Linked DNA regions of Homo sapiens: region 2 is linked to region 1. Evidence: promoter capture Hi-C in 16 types of primary human blood cells and fetal thymus (Javierre and others, 2016). All regions are on one chromosome and are shown on one strand. The core of a region is centred on a gene start or on the middle of the fragment in contact, and the rest is flanking DNA. Distances in the headings are between cores, read along the strand shown.

Region 1 (6,352 bases), core at 2,880-5,379:
CTATAAGGCAACAGTAACCCAAACAGCACGGTACTGGTACAAAAACAGACACTCAGACTGATGGAACGGAGTAGAGAACTCAGAAATAAAGCCGTACACCTACCGCCATCTGATCTTCAACAAAGTCGATAAAAATAAGCAATGGGGAAGGACTCCCTGTTCAATAAGTGGTGCTGGCTAGCCTTATGCAGAATAAAACTGGACCCCTACCCATCACCATATACAAAAATTCACTCAAGATGGGTTAAAGATTTAAATGTAAGACCTCAAACCCTAGGAATCATAGAAGAAAACCTAGGAAATACCATTCTAGACATCGGCCTTGGGAAAGAATTTATGACTAAGTCCTGAAAAGCAATTTGCAGCAAAACGAAAAACTGACAGACGGGACCTAATCTAAACAGCTTCTGCACAACCAAAGAAACTATGAACAGAGTGTGGTGTTACGATATATATTGGTTTTCATCTGTGGTTTCTGGCTTGTAACTCCCATAACCCTCGTTATAGTCTTCTGTTATGTTGAGTGTGTTAGGCCTCAGAGGCAGGCCTCTAATTTTTTCCTGCTCTCCTTTTACCTGCTAACAACCCCCCACCTTTCTGACTGTGGGTCTTAAGACCTTCCCAGGAGAGGGTCCCATTGGATACACATGGACATAAAGATGGTAACAACAGACACTGCGGACGGGAGGGAAGGAGGGAGCAAGGGTTGAAAAACCAACTGTTGGGTGCTCTTTCTACTACCTGAGTGACAAGAACAATCGTACCCTAAACTTGAGCATCATGCAATATATCCATGTAACCTGCACATGTACCCCCGAATCTAAAATAAAACTTGAAATTACTTTAAAAAAAGCACTATTTTGCACAGCTCAGTGATTTTTAGGAATTCATGTGTGCCTTCACAGTGGGAGTGACTGTGCTCCTCCCAGAGTATTTTCTTCATGTACTTCTTCAAATACCTCCTACACTTCAGAAACTTCTCCAGATTTTCTTTATACCCTTCAACCAAAACAACATGCTGCAACAGCATGAATGTAGAAGCAGAAATGAGAATCCACTGTCATCTATTAAGCCAGACATTAAAAAGATTTGTGAAAATGCACAACGGTGTCACCATTCTTTTTGTTTTGTTTTGCAAAATACCGTTATTTTTCATTAAAAAAATTCACTTCAGCCTTTCAGCTGCCTAATTCAGATCCACAAAAATCCCACAGCCAAAGGGAACCCTGACTGTAGACTCACCCTCTGGATTCCTGTCCTTTCTTCCAGAATCTTGCCAGCTAGTTCCTCATTATCTCATAACCCTATGCTATGGAACATAAATTACCTAAACCGTGCCTTTTAGGTAGAGGGAGAATCTCTGGACCAGCTAGAAGCAGAATTTCAACATTGTATTGGGGTTTGGGTGCCTAACATAAAAAACATATTTAAAGTTAATAAATCAAAAAAGCCAGCAAAGTAAAACAAAAAATAAAAATTGTGTATGAAAATGGCTCTGAAAGGATCTGGAAGGAAAGCACAAAGTGAGAGGGTATAAAAAGTTACAGCTTTGGAAAATAGCTTGATATATAATTTCAGATTTTGTATTTCTACAGTAAAATGCTACTTGAGCATTTAGGCGTTTTAGTTTTCCACACATGAACCTCATCGATTTCCAGAGTTTGTGGTTCTTGGTGAGGATAGCGGGGAGGATTATCTTACTCCTACAAGGTTTTGGAGGTTTGACAAGTTGTTGAAAATATTAAAAGGCACATAACTATTACTAGCTCAGCAACATTTTGTTTCAGTATAATCACTGATTCACTACCTATTTTACTATTGATATTAATTCCAAAAGCTAGTGTGGGTCACATAGATTCCATTTTACATGAAGAATATAAAGTTTCCTTACTAGAAATTTACTTCTATTATTTTATACACCTTTAGAAAAATCTAATGTCACATTGATTCATTGATACAGTTGTGTAGCGGCTAGGTGTTTTTCCTCATGACTATTTCCTTCCTTCCTTTAATTATTATTTTTTTTTAAGATGGGGGTCTCACTATGTTGTCCAGGCTGATCTTGAACTCTTGGGCTCAAGCAATCCTCCCACCTTGGAGAAAATTAAAGAACTCTTTCCTTTAATTCTTTTTCTTTTTCTTTTTTTAGATGGAGTCTCGCTCTGTCGCCCAGTCTAGAGTGCAGTGTCGCCATCTCGGCTCACTGCAACCTCCACCTCCCGGGTTCAAACGATTCTCCTGTCTCAGCCTCTCGAGTAGCTGGGATTACAGGCGGCTGCCACCACGTCCAGCTAATTTTTGTATTTTTAGTAGAGACGGGGGTTTCACCATGTTGGCCAGGCTGGTCTTGAACTCCTGACCTCAAGTGATCTGCCCGCCTCGGCCTCCCAAAGTGTTGGGATTACAGGCGTGAGCCACTGCGCCCAGACTTTCCTTTAATTCTTTACTATTCAGCTATTTTATCCTTCCTTCTTACCCAGTTTGAAATGTAATTCATGGCTGGGCTGGGTGGTTCACGCCTGTAATCCCAGCACTTTGGGAGGCCGACGCGGGCATATCACCTGAGGTCAGGAGTTAGAGACCAGCCTGGCCAACATGGTGAACCCCACACCCCTCCCCCTCCCGTCTCTACTAAAAATACAAAATTAGCCTGGTGTGGTGGCGCATGCCTGTAATCCCAGCTATTCGAAAGGCTGAGGCAGGGGAATCGCTTGAACCCGGGAGGCAGAGGTCGCAGGGAGTCGAAATCGCGCCATTGCACTCCAGCCCGGGCAAGAAGAGCGAAACTCCGTCTCAAAAAAAAAAAAAAGTAATTTACATTTTCTTCTGCCTTTTTCACAGGACTCACTAGTCTCAGTTCCTGGAGATGGGAAGTACAAAACCTGTTTCTTTACTCAGTTGTAACTTGCACTGGCTTTCCTAACAATTACAGCATTCTGGGGTTCTCTGGGAACTTACACATCTGTTCTTTGCTCCCCAAATAAGCAGGTACTTTTTTTGATTGCTCTTAAACAATCTGGGTATTTCCCTCCCGGCCTCGCGTGATGCAGTTTAAAAAATAGAATAGGTCACGTTATTCCCCTGTTTCATCTTGTTGATAATTTGTGGAGTCGGGTAGAGACTCCATCTTCTATCTTAAGTATCTGGCGCTTGTGGGGGAATTAAGATCCTAAATGAGAATACTAAGTCCTTCGGCAGTTGGCACTAATCAATTACTCATTACTGATAACGGAATGAGCCACTGGAAATTTTAAAAGGAAAAGTACATGGGAGAACCTGATCAATTTAGCCAGCCACTTCTGGAGTGCCACAGTCACTAATGAAGCAACCTCCAGTGCAGGCCCTGGCTCCAGGGCGCTATGTACAACCTCCTGCCTCGCGCAACGTGGGTCTCCCGGAGCCTATCCTGCCAGCGCCGCGCACGGTCCCAGTCCACCAGGCCGCCAAGGCCCGGAGGGGGGCGCCCTAGTCGCGGGGAACACTGGAAATGCTTCAGGGGCGGACTCCGAAGACCGAGTATTGCCTCGAGGGACTTTCTGCGCCACCCCGTAATCGCTTGCGCTCCAGGTCTTCGTAGGTGGGGGCCGGGTGGGTGAAGACTGGGACCCTATGCCACGCGCAGCACTCAGAGGAGGGCTGGGGTCCCAGGGCCGCAGCGCGGTCAGTTCAGTCCGGGCTCGAGCTTCCTAGCAGCGCCCTCCTTGGGGGCTGGCCCTGACCCTCGGTGCCGCTACGAGTGGGTGGCCAGAAGCTGGTGGTGGAGAGGGAGAGCGTCTGCAAGGAACGACGAGGCTGGCGCCGGGACCACGCGGCGGAGGCGATCGAAAGAGAAACGAGGCCAGGCAAGGAGGAGGAAATCCACCCGATGAAGGCGAGCTGCCGCCTAAGAGGGAGGAGGGTCCTTTCGGCTGCCGCTGCTGCTGTTCCGGGACGCCGCCTGGGGAGCCAGCCCGCTCGTAAGGTGCGCGCCAGGTAGCTCCGCACCCAGGGGGCGCCCTTCCTGGCCCCTCCCAGAGCGGCCGGGACGGAAGGAGCTGCGCGGCGCGGCGCGGCGCGGCGCGGCGGGTGGCGAGGGCGGGCTGCACCCCGAGCGCGGCGCCCTTGAGCTGCACCGCGGCGCAGGTTTGCGAGCCGACTTGTCAGCCGGCCAAGAAAAGGAAGCTCCGTCCCTTCCCGCTCACCCGGCTTCCCCACCCCTTGTACTCTAAACTCTGCAGAGGGCGAGCGGCGCGGCCACGGAGGCGCCGAGGAGGAGCGAGCCGCCGCCGGGCAGCGGCGTGCCCTCGGGGGAGAGGGCGCCGGAGAGGAGGCGGCGGCGCGGCGGCGAGGGCGCGGCGCGCGATGGCAGCTGCTTAGCCCGGCGGGCGCGGAGCAGCCCCGAGCTGTGGCTGGCCAGGCGGTGCGGCTGGGCGGGGGACGCCGCCGCCGTTGCTGCCCGGCCCGGAGAGATGAGCACGGAGGCGGACGAGGGCATCACTTTCTCTGTGCCACCCTTCGCCCCCTCGGGCTTCTGCACCATCCCCGAGGGCGGCATCTGCAGGAGGGGAGGAGCGGCGGCGGTGGGCGAGGGCGAGGAGCACCAGCTGCCACCGCCGCCGCCGGGCAGCTTCTGGAACGTGGAGAGCGCCGCTGCCCCTGGCATCGGTTGTCCGGCGGCCACCTCCTCGAGCAGTGCCACCCGAGGCCGGGGCAGCTCTGTTGGCGGGGGCAGCCGACGGACCACGGTGGCATATGTGATCAACGAAGCGAGCCAAGGGCAACTGGTGGTGGCCGAGAGCGAGGCCCTGCAGAGCTTGCGGGAGGCGTGCGAGACAGTGGGCGCCACCCTGGAAACCCTGCATTTTGGGAAACTCGACTTTGGAGAAACCACCGTGCTGGACCGCTTTTACAATGCAGGTGCGTGTGTGACCCCTTTCCCATCCCGCGCGGTCGGGACCCGCGTTTAATCTGGCGGTCTTCGGGGCATTTCATTTTTCTGGGCGGGAAGCATTTACTTCTTGCCCCACTTTGGGGGCAGCGAGCGCCGCTGCGTGACTGCTCCTGTCGCTCGCCGCTCCGGAGAGAGCGTGTGTGCTTGTGCAAGAGTCTGTGTGTACTTGTGCGATAGACCTATGGATCCACCCACCGCCCAGCGCTGGAGCCCTGGGTCCATGCGATCGACTTGAACTGTTCTCCAGCAGTGTGAGATATTTGCCCCAGTCAGTCTTTCTCCTTTCAGTGTCTCGGTTTCGCTTCTGTGAGGTTTGGTCCCTGTTTTCTTTCTGCATATACCTGTGACCGTTTTAGATGAGGTTCTCCTTTTCTCTGTGTAGTTTTGAGAGTACGGGAACGATGACATACCATGCACGCAGAGTGTAACTATATTAATTTGCATGCCATGTGATGATCTTCCCAACTCACCTTACCTTCGATAAGTTTTAGTAGCTTGAATTTCCTCTCACCAACCCAGACTTTGAAGTAATTACAGTGCTTCCAAAGGCAATAACATTACAACTTACACTGAACTTGTGTGTTATCTTTGTAAGGATTTTGGTGAAAGAACCAGGGCCTGTTTTTTATTACCCCATAAACCATGGTGGGCTAGAAAGTTTGTAATTTAACATTGTCTAAAACACCTGTATGCTATCCTAATAATAAGATTAGTTTCGCCATTAAAGTGATTGCTAGCATAATCCATGAAAGAAATGTATCTTTCAACCTATCTCAAATTTCAGAAAATGTTAAGGCAGTTCTAGTAACTGAAGCACTTAGCTGTTAGCAAATGTTAGGAATAATACCATATTATGGAAATTAACCTTTAGTCCCCTGTACGTCCAGTGTTGAGAATATATACATATTTATGTTTACATTTGTGGGTAAAAACTTGGTTTAGTAGTTTCAAAACAATACACTTCTTGCATTTGTGATCACATAAAAGGCTTTATTTTCCAATCTTGTTTTCAATTCTGATTCTCTTTAGTGTCTTCCAAACACCTGAAGTGGGCTTATGTCAGTTTTGGAATTCAGCCAAAGCTGAATATTTTGAGAACAACAAGACCTTCATGTTAAGGAAGCCAGACTAAATAAACTAGGACTTTCTCGTTCTGGTATTTTTAAAATAGTTTTGGTCTTCATAACTGAGCATGGCTATAATATAGCTTGATTCTTTGGGTAGCTTGCTATAAAAGTTACATCAACATAACTTTTCTAAAAATTGTAGCACTCTTATTTTTGGATTATAATTTGGAAGAAACTTCAAAGAACTAAAAGATATGAGAGGAAAATACCCAACTGAACACTTGAGCCTATTTTTATTGCACTGATTGGGCGTTTTTTTCCTAGGGCTCTAGAAAAAAAATGTTAAACTCTAAGC
Region 2 (7,206 bases), core at 1,487-3,986, 79 kb after region 1:
TCAGCCTCCCTAGTAGCTGGGATTACAGGCTCCCGCCACCACGCCCAGCTGATTTTTGTATTTTAGTAGAGACGGGGTTTCGCCATGTTGGCCAGGCTGATATCAAACTCCTGATCTCAAGCAATCCGCCCCCGTTGGCCTCCCAAAGTGCTGGGATTACAGGTGTGAACCACCATGCCCAGCCAGCTATAATCATTTAATGGAATATTATAGAGCACTTAAAACAAATCAGTTAGTGCTTCAGACGTCAATATCAATATATCTCAAAACAACAGTGTTGGGGTAAAAAAATTACTTGTGTACAGTATCATACCATCTATATAAAATATTGTCAGTGCAAGAGGATGCTTTTATACACACTTGTGTTATAAAAGGATAGACATGTGCATGGAATTATAAACAACATTCAGAATAGTTACCTCTTAGGGGATAGGAATGGAATAAAATTGGGAAGGGAAGATGAGAGTCTTCAACTGTATCTGTAATGTTATAGTTCTAAATCTAGGTGGTAGATTATGAGTGCTAATTTTTGTACTTTTTATATACTTGAAATATTTAATAATTAACCTTTTTTAAAAAAGGAAAAGGTTGCTATATTCTTTTATTTTTTGTATCCACCAGGATAACGTATATGCATTTTGGACACTGGAATCCCAAAATATTTTTAGTGTCTTTTTTCTATGTTCTGGCTGTGGTTAGAAAGCTTCAGATATTTGGATATTTCCCTTTCTGCACTCAAACAGACTTTGTTCTCATTTTATCCATTATAGAAGTAATGTTTCTTGATAGGTTGGTAGGCACATCAGTTAGTGGTGATGCAGTTTGTGTTGAAACGTAATGATTATGTTAGATTATTTCTTGTTCAAAAAATTTAGTTGTATTTTTATCTTTAACCATTGGCTGAAAAGTTACTTTATGGATGGGATTTTCATTAATAGACTATTCTCTGTGGCAACCTGTCTACACGCTTACTCCTTCACTATCTCACTGTATACAGAACACACATATGTGATGCTTGAAACCCTTACTCTGCCTCAGTGCATCTATTATTTTCTAGATTGGGATCTGGCTAGCATGAAATCTTAGGTGCACAAACCAAAATTTGTAACATTTCACTAAATTAGCCCTTAAAAATCAGCAAATTTTAATAATACGGCAGCTCCCCAAAACATTAAAAATAAAATTACCACATGATCCAGCAATTCCACTTCTGGATATATACCCAAAAGAACTGAAAGCGGGATCTTGAAGAGGTGTTTATATACCCATGTTCATGGTAGCATTATTCTTAGTAGCCAAAAGGTGGAAGCAACCCACATATTTATCAACAGATCATTGGCTGAACAACATGTGGTATATACATATAATGGAATATTATTCAATCTTAAAAAGGAAGGAAATTTTGACATATGGTACAACATAAATGAACGTTGAAAACTACTGCTCATTTGAGCAGTTCTGTGATACCTAGACCCATGATCTTTTATCTGCAGGCACTGAGGGACTCAATCTCCTTTAGAACTTAAACACGGAGTCTTGTCTTTCTGGCACTCATTCATATCCATTTGAAGCAAATGGTTATAGTTTTGAAAATAGCAGTGATGTCCATGTGTAAATTTTGATGATTATACCAGTTTGTAAATTGGTGAGGACACCTGGTAATTTGTTACAAATACCTCACACTTAAATTGAATTCTTACCTGTATTTGGAGAATCTACTCGGATTCCAGAGTGTTCTTAAACCCATAAAAACATTTTATCTTTTTGTTTTTACAAACAAAAAACAGTACTTCCTTTTGTTAAAGTTTTGCCTCCCTTATCAAAGTAAATAAGATGAATTTGGTTTTAGCTTGAGTTGTGCATGGAATTAAAATTTTTATTTTTCAAAGGTTTAGGATTCTTTTAGTTTAACAAAGAATTTTTGCTGGATTCTTTTCAGCATTTTAAAAATCATCAACTTGTTAGTGGTACAAAGTACACACTCAGTAAATGTTTTTTAAAAACATCCTTGGAAAATATGATCCTATAAAGTGGTCTCACAATTTGTGAACTGGAAACATTGGCCCTACCCCTTTTTAATAGTGCTGCCTCTGGACATCTCTGAAAGTCTCTAGCTTACTTTATAACCAGCTGTTGATTTAAAAACCCTGGGACTCTACTCTTCCTGGTTCAACGTTGCTATCCCTTACACTTCTTTTCATTTGGTAGAGACAATCTTGTTCCTTTATTTTATTTATTCAGAAATGATCTAACTTTCATCTAAGCTATAATCATTCCATCTCAAATTGGGGAAGGAAAGAGGTAATTTGTGGGGAGGAGCAAATAAGCAATTCATGTAACACTGCTTTATGAAGGTTTTCTCTGAAGATCTTGAATTGACAAGCTAGATGAATGATTTATTTAGCAGGAGTTGACTTCCCAATTGTAGAATCCCTGAGGTTATTAAAGGGACTCAAGACTGGAGAATTCAGCTTTCTTGGATGTCAATTAGCAATAGTATACCTTCTAAGGAATTATGTATAGACTGGGTAAAATATGCCCTTGCTTTCTCCTTCCTGATACCTCTTTAACCACCCTCACTCCTTGCCCACTGTTTTGAATCTCTTGTTACCATTTTGTCTAAGAGGCGATGCACAATGCCATTATATGACTGTGGGCACCAGCTATTTTTCTCATTTGTAGTGACTCTGGTCGTAGGCCTATGATTTTGAATACCCTTAAAGAGTAAGAAGGACTACTTCTGCACACAGAGGAAGGAGTGGGGCAAGCCTTGCTGAATTATCTTTATTTTCACTTATGCTATATAAATGACTCTTTCTGTGGAAGTTGATCTTTTTGGCATTGTAACCCATCACCCTCTTTGGGCCTTTTTAGAATATATCTTTGAAACTATTACTGAAATATGTGTGTGTATTAGTTCATTTTCATGCTGCTGATAAAGACATACCTGAGACTGGGTAATTTATAAAGAAAAAGAGGTTTAATGGACTCACAGTTCTATGTGGCTGGGGAGGCCTCACAATCATGGCAGAAGGTGAAAGGCACATCTTACATGGCAGCAGACAAGATAGAATGAGCCAGGTGGAAGGGGAAACCCCTTATAAAATCATCAGACCTCGTGAGACTTATTCACTACCACGAGAACAGTATGGGGGAAACCACCCCCGTAATTCAGTTATCTCCCACCAGGTCCCTCCCACAACATGTGGGAATCATGGGAGCTACAATTCGAGTTGAGATTTGGGTGGGGACACAGCCAAACCATATCAATGTGTAAAGTATGATTTACTGTAGAAAAATTCACTATACCTCCAACTTTAACAATACAGTTTAAGAAAAGTAATACATGCACTTGAATAATGTGACCCAATTAGGTGTTGCTGAAAGAAACAACTGGTTAAAAAGAAGAAGAAGTTAATTATAATAGCAACACAGTATAAAGTGAAGTTTGTGTTAAGAAGCTCTGTTAGGCCGGGCACAGCTGTAATCCCAGCACTTTGGGAGGCTGAGGCAGGTGGATCACCTAAGCCCAGGAGTTCAAGACCAGCCTGGTCAGCATAGTGAGACCCAGTTTCTACAAAAATTAGCTGGTCATGGTGGTACGTGCCTGTAGTCCCAGCTACTTAGGAGGCTGAGGTAGGAGAATTGCCTGAGCCTGGGGAGGTTGAGGTTGCAGTGAGCTGAGATCATGTCACTGCACTCCAGCCTGGGTGATAGAGTGACAGAGTGAGACCCTGTCTCAAAAAAAAAAAAAAAAGCTCTATTAAATGCTTTATGTATAAAATGTCATTCATCAGCATTCCAGCCAGTTTAGAGACAGATACCTACTTACGGCAGAGTTCTTCCACCAAGATATACTTATTTAAATATGAAAAGAAATTAATAGGGAAAAGAGAGGCTAGAATTCCTTTTAGGATTACTTTCCAGCTTTGATATAATTTAACCTGATTTTTGGTACAGGTTGTTTTAATTGATAGGTGTTCATATGCAAGAGAAGGATGTGTTCTTAGCCCCCGTCATGAATAACAGAGGTGTAAAAGGTCTCTAGACCTGGCAGTGCAGGAATTGAGTTGGAGTTGTTTGCTTTGGTTTATTAATACCTCCTCCTATAAATAGCTTTAAAGTACTGCAAGTAATTTCATTAACTTACTCCATTTGGCCTTTACATAGAACCCAACGAGACAGACAAGTTAGATATTATTTGGATTGGAGAGATAGAAGGTATTTTCTTTTTCTTTTTTCTTTCTTTCTTTCTTTCTTTTTTTTTTTGAGAGGTCTGACTTTGTCCACCCAGCCTGGGGTGCAGTAGTGCCATTTTGGCTCAGTGCAACCTCCACCTCCCAGGTTCAAGCAATCCTCCCATCTCGACCTCCTGAGTAGCTGGGTGTATAGGCACATGCTGCTACACCTGGCTAATTTTTGTATTTTTTTGTAGAGATGGGGTTTTGCCGTGTTTCCCAGGCTGGTCTCAAACTCCTGGGCTCCAGTGATCTGCCTGCCTCTGCCTCCCAAAGTGCTGTGATTACAGGCATGAGCCAACGCTCCTGGCCAGAAGATATTTTCTTTACAGAAGAGAAATGAGACGCGTGATGACTTGTTTGGGGAACACACACAGCTAGTGTCGGGGCAAGGATAAGCCCTATATTCTTTGACTTGTCATCTGGTACTTTCCTCTCTCAGTCTATCCACAGATTTCATATGTTCTGCAAAAGGATGATTTTCTAGGTTTTTTTTTTAAGATTATTGAGATTTTTTTCTTTTAAAGCTTGAGCTTTTATGTAGGCATAACATGTAAACACAAAAGTACTTTGTTTCCTATCTATCTTTAAAGACTCTGTGTCACGGCTCTATGACACTTTTGTTGGATTACTCTCCCTGAGTCTGCTCAGCTTGTTTTAGCAGTGTGCAGAAAGGGTACGGGGGTGTTTCTCCTTCTCAGCAAGGCCTAGGAGGCCCAGACAGCCCATCTGATAGTTTCTTGTTTTGCTTTTTTGACACATTGAAATGAGTTAAGAAGATGGAGCTGAGGAGTATAGGGATTATTCTTCTTTTCCCCAACTTTAATGGAAAACTTGCCAAGTTCCACTAGGACAGAAAGATGGATCAGAACGGAAGACCCAGAAAGTCACCAGCCAGGGAGAGGTTCTTTCCCTGGGCAAGAACTCCAAGCCTGCTCCTTTCTCTTCTTTCAGGAAGGTGAAATCCTGGTTCCTATTCCTGCTTCTCCCACCCCAAGTTTGATTTGACTTGGCCACCCCATGCCTGCTATTCCCACTTCTTTCGCTGGCTGCAGTTACCTAAATTTTAGGCACAAAAACTTTCTAGTGGTGGAAATACTCCATTTAGTTATCCCTGAGGTGACCTTTTCAAACACTGTCCCAGAGAGCTATCAAAAGTTAGTCTTTGCCTTCAAATGAGCCTTGGACTAGATTTTTTTTTTTAGTCTTGCTCCCCTTAATTGGTTATCAACCAATACCAGAAAATCAGGAAAAGAATTTTTTTGAATGTTTCTGGTATAGCCGGGGCTACACTGACCAAAAGCCCCCTAAATACCTCAGACAAGTATGGAGTTGTAGTGGGGTAATGCATCTTCAGAAATGTGCCCCTGGCAAGGAACTGGAGTTTATATTGATTTTATCTTCTTATTCATAGGTACTTGAGAGGAAAATTTCCATGAGCTGATGTGAAATAGAGCAGTTATGTCTTAAATTTATTCCCTTTCCTTCCCACCCCTCTTTAGTGGATTTAATACAAATTAAGCATTCTCTGCTCTAGATACCTTTCAAGGTCTTATTTGTTATTTATTTGGATTGAGTTAAATGAACAAACAGTACCTTTGCTCCATTAAAGTTGATGCCTCCTTTAAGGTTACATGATAAACTGTGAATAAACTCTGTCTCCTTCAGGAGAACAGGATTTGTAGCCCTTTAGCATCTACAAAGCATAAACAATAGCTAACAAGAATTCAGATGTTACACGAATGATTTTTCTTTCTCTTTTTAAGAGATGGGACTCTCTTGTCACCCAGGCTGGAGTGCAGTGGTGCGATCATAGCTCACTGTGGCCTCGAACTCCTGGCCTCAAGCAACCCTCCTGCCTCTGCCTCTTGAGTAGCTGGGATTACAGGTGCACACCATCATCTGGCTCAGGAATGATTTTTATAGTTTGCAGGCACAATCTGCAAGCATAATCTAAAATGCATGCATTATAAGGTATGCATAATCTGAAATGAAGATGGAGGAGACATGTAAGAGGGTTATTATTCCAATGAGCAATTCATAAGGAAGATATAGCATATTGGCACTAAGCCAGTAGTGGCCATTTGCTTTTCTATAGAGCCTTCTGCTCACTCAGTACTCACCACTGCTCCCTTCCCTGCCACTTCCATTTCTGTGCCTGGTGCATCAAAAACAGAGTCAAGGGTAGAATATCTTGTATGCTGGGGGAGCATGAGGGCATCTCTCCTTCTAGCAGCACAAGGACAAGACTGACTATGAGAGCCCTTTAGGCAAAAGCAATTGATGAACACAGCATTAGAAGAGACTAGCAATCACTTAGTCAAACTCTCTTAGTGTCACATTAGAGAGAAGTGAAATGGCTAGCTGGGAGCAGAGCCATATCTTACATATATCTACCCCTAATTCATAGTCCAATATTTTATACATTCATTAATTTATTCATTTATTCATGCTTTTGTAGTACCCGCTGTATGTCATGACATTTGCTAGACAGTCAGTCAGGATACAAATATGAATAAAATACATGGTCTTTGCACGCGAGGAAGTCATGATGTAGGGTGAGAGAATCATAGGAACAAAAATGTGCAATGTAGAAAATGAAGTGCTTTCGAGGAGATGTGTGTGAGGATTAATGACAACACAGATAAAGACATAATCTACTTCTGTTGGGGGTGTCACAGAACACAGTGAAGGCCAGCTTCACAGAAGACAGGTTTCTTATACATTGCACAGAGGATGCTGCACAGAGAGGACGGAGAGGGCATTTCCTCGTTACTCAGAGGGGAAGAGAGAAGGATATTCTATCAAGTGAGAGCCATATTTGCAAGCGTATGGTTTGCTACTCTGGAGAGATGCTCCATAGATCAAGTTTGAAAAATTCTGCATACTGTGTTCCTGGCTTTGTGATTATCCAACATTTTTCAGCTTCCTTGTTCGTGAGCCATTTCTGTGTGTGCGCAATATTAAC

Evidence for each region. Contacts are between HindIII fragments. The CHiCAGO score rates a contact against its expected background, and 5 or more counts as called.
Region 2: a contact is called between a fragment that was not itself captured here and the fragment with the promoter of MAP3K5 in region 1, in 2 of 17 cell types (megakaryocytes and M0 macrophages). The highest score is 5.6, in megakaryocytes.

Annotation. Positions count from the first base shown.
Region 1 is chr6:136,790,254-136,796,605 of GRCh38, reverse strand. It overlaps MAP3K5 (mitogen-activated protein kinase kinase kinase 5), which reads left to right and starts at 4,129. Exons shown (of 30, transcript NM_005923.4): 1 at 4,129-4,896. The coding sequence starts at 4,449. RefSeq lists enhancers at 3,049-3,128, 3,499-3,558, 3,669-3,898, 4,689-4,758, 4,864-5,379 and a silencer at 3,919-4,558. The HindIII fragment of the contact is 11,326 bases long and covers 1-6,352 here.
Region 2 is chr6:136,708,727-136,715,932 of GRCh38, reverse strand. All of the region lies in intron 2 of MAP3K5 (mitogen-activated protein kinase kinase kinase 5), which reads left to right. Among named protein-coding and RNA genes, the nearest start is that of MAP3K5-AS2, 72 kb to the left of the region's middle. The HindIII fragment of the contact is 4,062 bases long and covers 706-4,767 here.